2 separate regions of the Homo sapiens genome follow, and region 1 is linked to region 2. Evidence: promoter capture Hi-C in 16 types of primary human blood cells and fetal thymus (Javierre and others, 2016). All regions are on one chromosome and are shown on one strand. The core of a region is centred on a gene start or on the middle of the fragment in contact, and the rest is flanking DNA. Distances in the headings are between cores, read along the strand shown.

What was found. Contacts are between HindIII fragments. The CHiCAGO score rates a contact against its expected background, and 5 or more counts as called.
Region 1: the fragment with the promoter of SAMD11 here is called in contact with the fragment with the promoter of RNF223 in region 2 in 2 of 17 cell types (erythroblasts and neutrophils); the score reaches 8.3 in erythroblasts.

What each region holds. Positions count from the first base shown.
Region 1 is chr1:922,466-925,702 of GRCh38, reverse strand. SAMD11 (sterile alpha motif domain containing 11) reads right to left here and starts at 1,780. Exons shown (of 14, transcript NM_001385641.1): 1 at 755-1,780. The coding sequence starts at 1,271. LOC107985728 (collagen alpha-1(III) chain-like) reads left to right here and starts at 99. Exons shown (of 5, transcript NR_168405.1): 1 at 99-185; 2 at 2,242-2,428; 3 at 2,560-2,690; 4 at 2,968-3,031; 5 at 3,194-3,237. RefSeq lists enhancers at 1-491, 2,157-2,735. The HindIII fragment of the contact is 23,463 bases long and covers 1-3,237 here.
Region 2 is chr1:1,072,217-1,075,617 of GRCh38, reverse strand. RNF223 (ring finger protein 223) reads left to right here and starts at 1,312. Exons shown (of 2, transcript NM_001205252.2): 1 at 1,312-1,602; 2 at 3,043-3,401. The coding sequence starts at 3,052. RefSeq lists an enhancer at 1,120-1,619. The HindIII fragment of the contact is 29,142 bases long and covers 1-3,401 here.

The DNA of each region.
Region 1 (3,237 bases), core at 531-3,030, 150 kb after region 2:
CCGACGAAGGGCCTGGGCGTCCCCACCCGGCGCCCCTCCTCCCGCGCTCCACCCTCTCCCCGGCCCCGAGGGAACCGCAGGCCGGGCCCAGAAAGGCTGAGTCCCGGAGCGGTGAGCGGCGCCGTCGGGACCCTCGGCCTGCGCGGCAGGAAGAGGCGGCCACCGCGGAACCACGCACCGCTCAGGTCCCGAACTTTTTAACTCCCCGCGGCGCCTGGCGCTCACCGCACCCCCTGTGTCCCGGCTCAGGCGCCCCCGCGTCGCACCCTTGGGCCCAGGCGCCCGCAGGCGCCAAAACAGGTTGTGTGACCTGGCGCCGCCGCTCGGGCTCCGCGCGCGCCCCCGCGCCGCCCCGCAGCCTCCCCCGCCGCGCGCTCGCACCCGGCCGCACGTGCGCCCCTCCAGTCTCCCCCGAACCCGGGGCTCCGCGCCCTCCCAACCCGCCTCCTGCCCGCTCTCTCGAGTCCCCGTAAACTTCCTTCGGGCCTTAAGGCCCAGGAGCCTCGCAGAGACCTTCCGAGCGGAGGGAGCGGCCCGCGAGCCCCAAGCGCTGTGGCCCAAGCTGGGGGGAGGTGCAGCGGGGGGCGATCTGTCCGTGTTCACCGAGGCCTCCGCGCGCGGCGGGGGTGTCCCCGCGCAGCCCTGGAGCTGCAGCGCCCCCTCGGCCGAGCCGGAGGCTCCCGGGTGTCCGAGTCGGGTAGGGGGTGGGGTCGGGGCCCGCGGGTCCCGGCAGCGAAGGGAGGGGCGGCGGCACCTTTGTGGCGGATGCTGCGCTTCCAGTCCTTGGCCGTCTCGCGGCCGCTGACGAACTGGAACTCGTTGGGCGTGAGCCACTCGCCGCGGTGGCGGATGGACGGGCCCTTGCTGCCCTGGCAGAGTTTGCGCACGTAGAGCAGCGCGCGGTTGGCGCCGCACTCCACCTCGATGCACGGCTCGCCGTTGTCCAGCAGCGGCTGGAAATCCGGGGCCGCGGCCGCGGTGGCCGAGAAGCGCTCGAGGGCCAGCGGGTCCCTGGGCAGGTGGAGGTGCGGGGCGGCCTCGTGCAGGCTGAGGTAGGCGCGCGGGGGGCGGAGCGGCGGGGCCAGCAGAGCCTCGTAACCGGCGGCCGAGGCGGGCAGCGAGGCGGCCGGGGGGAGGGCGGCCGCCGCGGGCAGTGGCGCCAGGTAGCCTGGCAGCGGCGGCAGCGGCAGCGCGGCCAGGGTCGGGTGGAACGTGGCCAGAGCCAGGGCCAGGTCCTCGCGGCCCGGGAACTCCTTCTTGACCGCCGGCATGGCGCCCCGGTGGCTCCGCAGCCCCGCTCTCCGCCGGCGGCAGCAACTTATTCCGGCCCGGGCTGGAGTTGGGTCGCGGGGGCCGGGGAGGCGCCTGGCCGCGCGCCCACGCCGTCCGCTAGTGCGCCCCGGCGCCCGCAGCCGCCGCCTACGCGCCGCCCGCCAGGCCTCCCCGGACTGCCCAGCCGGCCGGCGGGGCCTCAGAGGCCGGAGACATGGAGCTGCTATCGATCCCGGATCGACTCGCCGAGCGCCGCAGTTCCAGGGCCTCGGGGCTCCCCGGGGCGTCTGGAGTCCCGCGCCCCGGCCACCAGCGCCCGCGCCCGGGGCAGTCCCACGCCCGGCTCGCCGACCCACCCGCCAGGCCGAGCCCGGCAGCGAGGAGTCGCGGAGTCCCCGCCCCTCTCGGGGGTCCCAAGCCCCCGCCCCGCCGCCCGGGCCGCGTCAGTCGTGCACCCGCGTCCACTGGCGCGCGCCCGCCCGGCGGGGACTTGGGAGACTCCGCCGCCGACGCCGCCGCCACAACTTGGCCCATTTAAACGGCCCCGGCGCGGCGGGCGGCGCGGGCTCCCGCGGGGGGTGCGTGACGGCCGACTCGGGGCATCCGGCGGCGGCAGCGGGACAGGGCTGCGGCCCCCGGCACTATCCCGAGTACCGAGTCACTGCGAGCGGCTGGAATCCAGGACTCCGCGCGGGACTGGGATGGGCTGGGCTGGTCGCGGACCGGGCTCCTCTCGGAGGGAGGGAGCTGGGGGCTGCTCGCCGGGGTGTGAGCGTGCGCCGGCGGCTCTGGGACTTTGCGCAGCGAATCTGATGGTGGGCGTTGGTGTCCGGGAGGGCGTGGGTGGTCTCAGTGCACCTGCAGGGAGCGAGGTTGTGGATTTGTAGTGTGTTGCCTGGGCAAAGTGTTCTGTGAATAACAGGGCAGCACCTCCCCGCCCACTCGTGCCCCTTCCTATGCACTTGACAGGAGTGAGTTCGCCCGAGCCACGGAGTTCCTGTTCAGTCTTTTGCAGAAGACGCTGAGACAGAAAGGTCAAGTAACTCTCCTGAAGTCACACAGCTGTTTCAAATGCAGGATGTCTCACACCAGGACCGCGCCAGGACCATGGTGTGGGGCAAGAGCTTCCTGTCACCCCACACCTCCCAGCAGGAAGGTGGTGTGGATCCGAGGCAGGGTGAGGGTGGGGGATAGCGGGTTGGCAGAGTGCACGGCCTCCCACTAGGAGGAGCAAGGCTAGTGAAGCAGGACCGGCCACACCACGTCCACCTTGGTGCCTTCTGACAGGTCAGTCTGGGCCCCAGTCCCTGGTTCCTGGTGAGCTTCCCATCACCCCCCACCTCCCTGCGTGCCCAGATCGGCATTGCATCTGGAGCGTTCCGAAGAGAAACACAACCTGGGGGCGTTGGTAACAGCAGGTGAGACAGCCTTGTCCTGCGCTGCTGTGCGGTGTTGCATCCACTAGAAAGGGGCCTCCTGTTCTGACCCTGGCCCCTGCCCTTGAGATGCAGCTGGCATGTCCCTGTGGGCATCTCCCAGAGCAGGTCCAGGGGTGAGTGGGCCACAGGCCTGTTTGCACAGGTGCCTTCTTCGAGGGAGGGAACAGCCCACCACCACCTCCTGCCAGACCAGCTTCCTTGAGCATAAACCTGACCCTGGGTGACCACGCTGGGCTCCTTCACCTTATCTCACCAGAGGCTTCTGCTGGTCCCACAGCCAACCCGCGGAGTGAGGTCTGGGCCAGGAGTGCTCTGCTCAGGCAAGGAACATGCCCAGAAGCCTCCCCCGCTATCCTGGCCCTGTTCTGTGGGGGCTCGTTGGTCTGTTGGGGTCTGGGGGGCCAGGTAGGAGTGTGGGTGTGAGTGTCGGTGACCCTTCCTTATGTGGCCACCCTTGGCCCTATCAACCTGTCTGCATCCAGGACACCAGCACATCCCTGACCCCAGCTGTGGCTGCCAGTGAGTT
Region 2 (3,401 bases), core at 63-2,562:
CTGAGAGTCCTCATGGAACTGGCAGGGGTCCGGCCCTTCCTGAGCCCAAGTCCCTGTGCTCCTCCTCGGGGTGTTGCCCCCTGGCCTCTGCAGTCCTGGTTCCCACTTCCCAGCATCCCTTGGGCTCCAGGATGCCCGCGGCAGCCCTGGGGGAGCCTCTGGGTCCCTACTGAGGGGTCGGCGGGCACCTGCATGGGAGTTGCCTGAGGGCAGTCTGTGGGGTGGCCCGGCCAGCTCTCCCACTAGGGTGGGTCCCTCACTCCCAGCCCCACCCAGTGTGGCACCCCCCCAGGCTGGTGTGTGGAGTCCCAGCTCAGGTCCGGCCCAGGCCTCATGGCGGGGATGGGGCTGTGGCAGCCGGGTCGGACCTCCCCTTGCATGAGGTCCACTGGGCTGGGAGAGAGACGCCTCAGTGAGGTGGGGAGCTGGCAGCTGGACAGCCTGGGGGTGCAGCTCTACACCAGGCCCTCGGGCCCACAGCGGGGTGTGCGGGGGACGGGGCAGCCCATGCCACTGGCTGCTCCTCTGAGACCCACACATCCTCCATCCCAGCCCTGCCAGCCTCAGCCCCCAGACTCTCAACCAGCTCCAGCCCTGGTCTTTGCACAGACCAGTCCTGTAGTCTGCTAGGGCATGTGGACATGGCATGTGTGTGTGTGTGGACACAGGGCACGTGTGTGAGAGCATGTGGACATGGCATGTGTGTGAGAGTGTGGACACGGCGTGTGAGTGTGGACACGGCGTGTGTGAGTGTGGACATGGCATATGTGAGCTTCCGGACACGGCACGTGTGTGAGAGCCTGTGGACACGGGGGCATAGAGCGTGTGAACACATGGCCCATGTGTGAGAGCAGCCACGTATGTGTATGGATGAGGCAGGTGAGCACATGGGTGGGTGTGGGCAGGGAAGTGGCAGGAATGGGCTGTGAGGGCAGGCAGCAGTGAGCAAAGGGCAGGGGCAGGCTGGGCATAGGTTGTGGGGGGCTCGGGGAGGGCCCCTGCTAGGAGGCCCACCCAGGAGCTCAGGGGCCACAGGGACCTGGAACTGCGGTGAGCAGCTTCCAGCAGGTGCTCCAGCCTCCTGGGGCTATAGGGAGAGAGGGCTTTGTCCAAGCACACACCCCAGCCCAGACCTGCCCAGGCTGCAGCGGCTGTGCTGACCCCTACCCGGCTCCGACCCTCACCCCTCCCTCCCTGCCCTCCAGCTGCCTGGCCCGCCAAGGAGAGGATGAAGCCAGCCAATCCCTGAGGCTTGCGGCCACACCCTTGGCCCATAGGGTATAAATAGACCTGCTTGGGAGCCCACACCCAGCAACTCACACCTGCCTCAGACCAGAGCTCTGTGCGGGTGACGGCGCACGCATTCCTTGTGTCCCCGCCTGTCTTGGACAGAGCAGAAGCCACACCTGCCAGACCAGTGCCACCGGGACAGCTGCTGGTGGCCGGCCCCGGGGAGGGATACCTGCTGGGTGAAGCACAGGCCGGGCCGGGCCCGGAGAAGAGGAAGCAGACACTGCCACGGCAGGGCAGCCCAGGGCCTTGGAGCCCAACCGTGGCCGGCGAGGAGGACCACGCCCAGGCCCGCTGACCCCCGGCCACCAGGTAAGGCCAGCTCAGCCCGTGTTCACCCCTTACCTGCACAGGCTCAGGGTGGGGCACCATCGTGGAGGGGTGGGGCCTCGTGCCAAGGAACCGGTTCTGTGGGGTACACAGGCCGCAGAGCACAGTCCCCAGGTCCCGGTGCCTGGGGCACTCACGGCCTCACAGTGACGGCGTGTGACTCAGGTGGTCACAGTGACCTGTGTCATCCCGCCAGCCTGTCTGGGACTCACTGGCAAGTCAGGGGTGGGGCGGGGCAGTGCCAGGAGTCACTTCTGGGGCAGCCTCCTGGGCCCCACGGGGACGCACGGCCAGGCCCTTGAGTCTCACTGTCACCCTTGCCCACTTCCCTCCAGGTGGGACCCCTGTGGCTCCCTGCAGCGGATCCTGGGTGCAGGGGAGGGGCGGGAGGTGGAGCAGGGTCCCAGGTCAGCTGAGATGCCCACCTGAGCCATGCCCAGGGGCAGAGCAGCATCCCCCAGTGTCCGTCCCCCAGGGTCCCTGCCATGAAGTGGGATTGGGTCAGGGAGAAGAAACACCCACTCAGTGGGCGGCTGAGGGTGCCCTGACCATCACCTGACCATGAGGCAGTGGGCTGGCCCAGAGGGAATGGCTGGGCTTATCCAAGTCCCACCCCCACACTGTGCACATCAGACCCTCAGCAGCTAGACAAGCCGGCCCCGCAGGCCGCAGGTCGTGCCTGACGTGCACCTTCCTCGGGCACTGACCCCTGCCCCTGCCTGGGCCCTCCCTGTCGTCCCAAAGCCCCCGGGGCTCAGCCCGGTCCCCAGACCCAGAGACCCCCACACCCCACCCTCACATAGCTGCCTACAAATCAGGCCTGCACCGCCCAAGCCAGGCACCCATCCTGGGATCTGAGTTCAAACTCACTTCACTTGACTTGGAGTCCCTGGCCTGCCTGAGAGCCGTATCTGCCAGGGTCCAGGGCCCGCCAGCTCCCTTGGGGTGGCCCTGGCCGAGTCACCCATGCTCTGGGCGGCCTTTTCCACACTGTGGCGTTGTGTGAGTCCCGTGATGTGGGCCCAGCCTTGCAGAGCTCCGACATAAACAGTGACGACTGTGGCTATTGTCATCCTCACCATTATTTCTGCCCGGGCAGCAGGGCCAGCCAGGTGGGGCAGGGCCAACAGGAGGTGTCTGCCGAGCGGTCAGTGAGACCCCCCTACACACGGCCTGCATTCCCGGAGCAGGCCTGGGGCCCTGTGGGAGGCTCACCCCGGTGCAGCCATGTGATGGGGTGGAGAGGACAGGATTGCACGTGGGGCAGAATGACCTCCAGGGGCACCGGAGGAACTTTCTGGAGTGGCGCGCAGGAAACAGAGTCCTTCCCTGGGATCTCTGGGGCGAGAGAGGGGAGGGAGAGATAAAACACCACCAGAAAGGGGCGGCCGGTGATTGCTTACCACAGTCCCTGTCCCACAGCTCAGAGACATGTCGTCAGGCCAGCAGGTGTGGCACACGGCTGTGCCACCCCCTCGCCGGAGCAGCTCCATAGCCTCGATGCCCAGGTCCCCCAGCTCGGCCGGCAGCCCCAGGTCCCCTGGCACCCCTGGCTCGGAGAGGGTGGCCTCCCCCCTGGAGTGCTCCATCTGTTTCTCAGGCTATGACAACATCTTCAAGACACCCAAGGAGCTCTCCTGCACCCACGTCTTCTGCCTGGAGTGCCTGGCCCGGCTGGCGGCTGCTCAGCCTGTGGGCCGCCCCGGTGGTGAGGCTGTACCTTGCCCCTTCTGCAGGCAGCCCACGGCCGTGCCGCCCGCCGGAGCCCCCGCGCTGTGCAC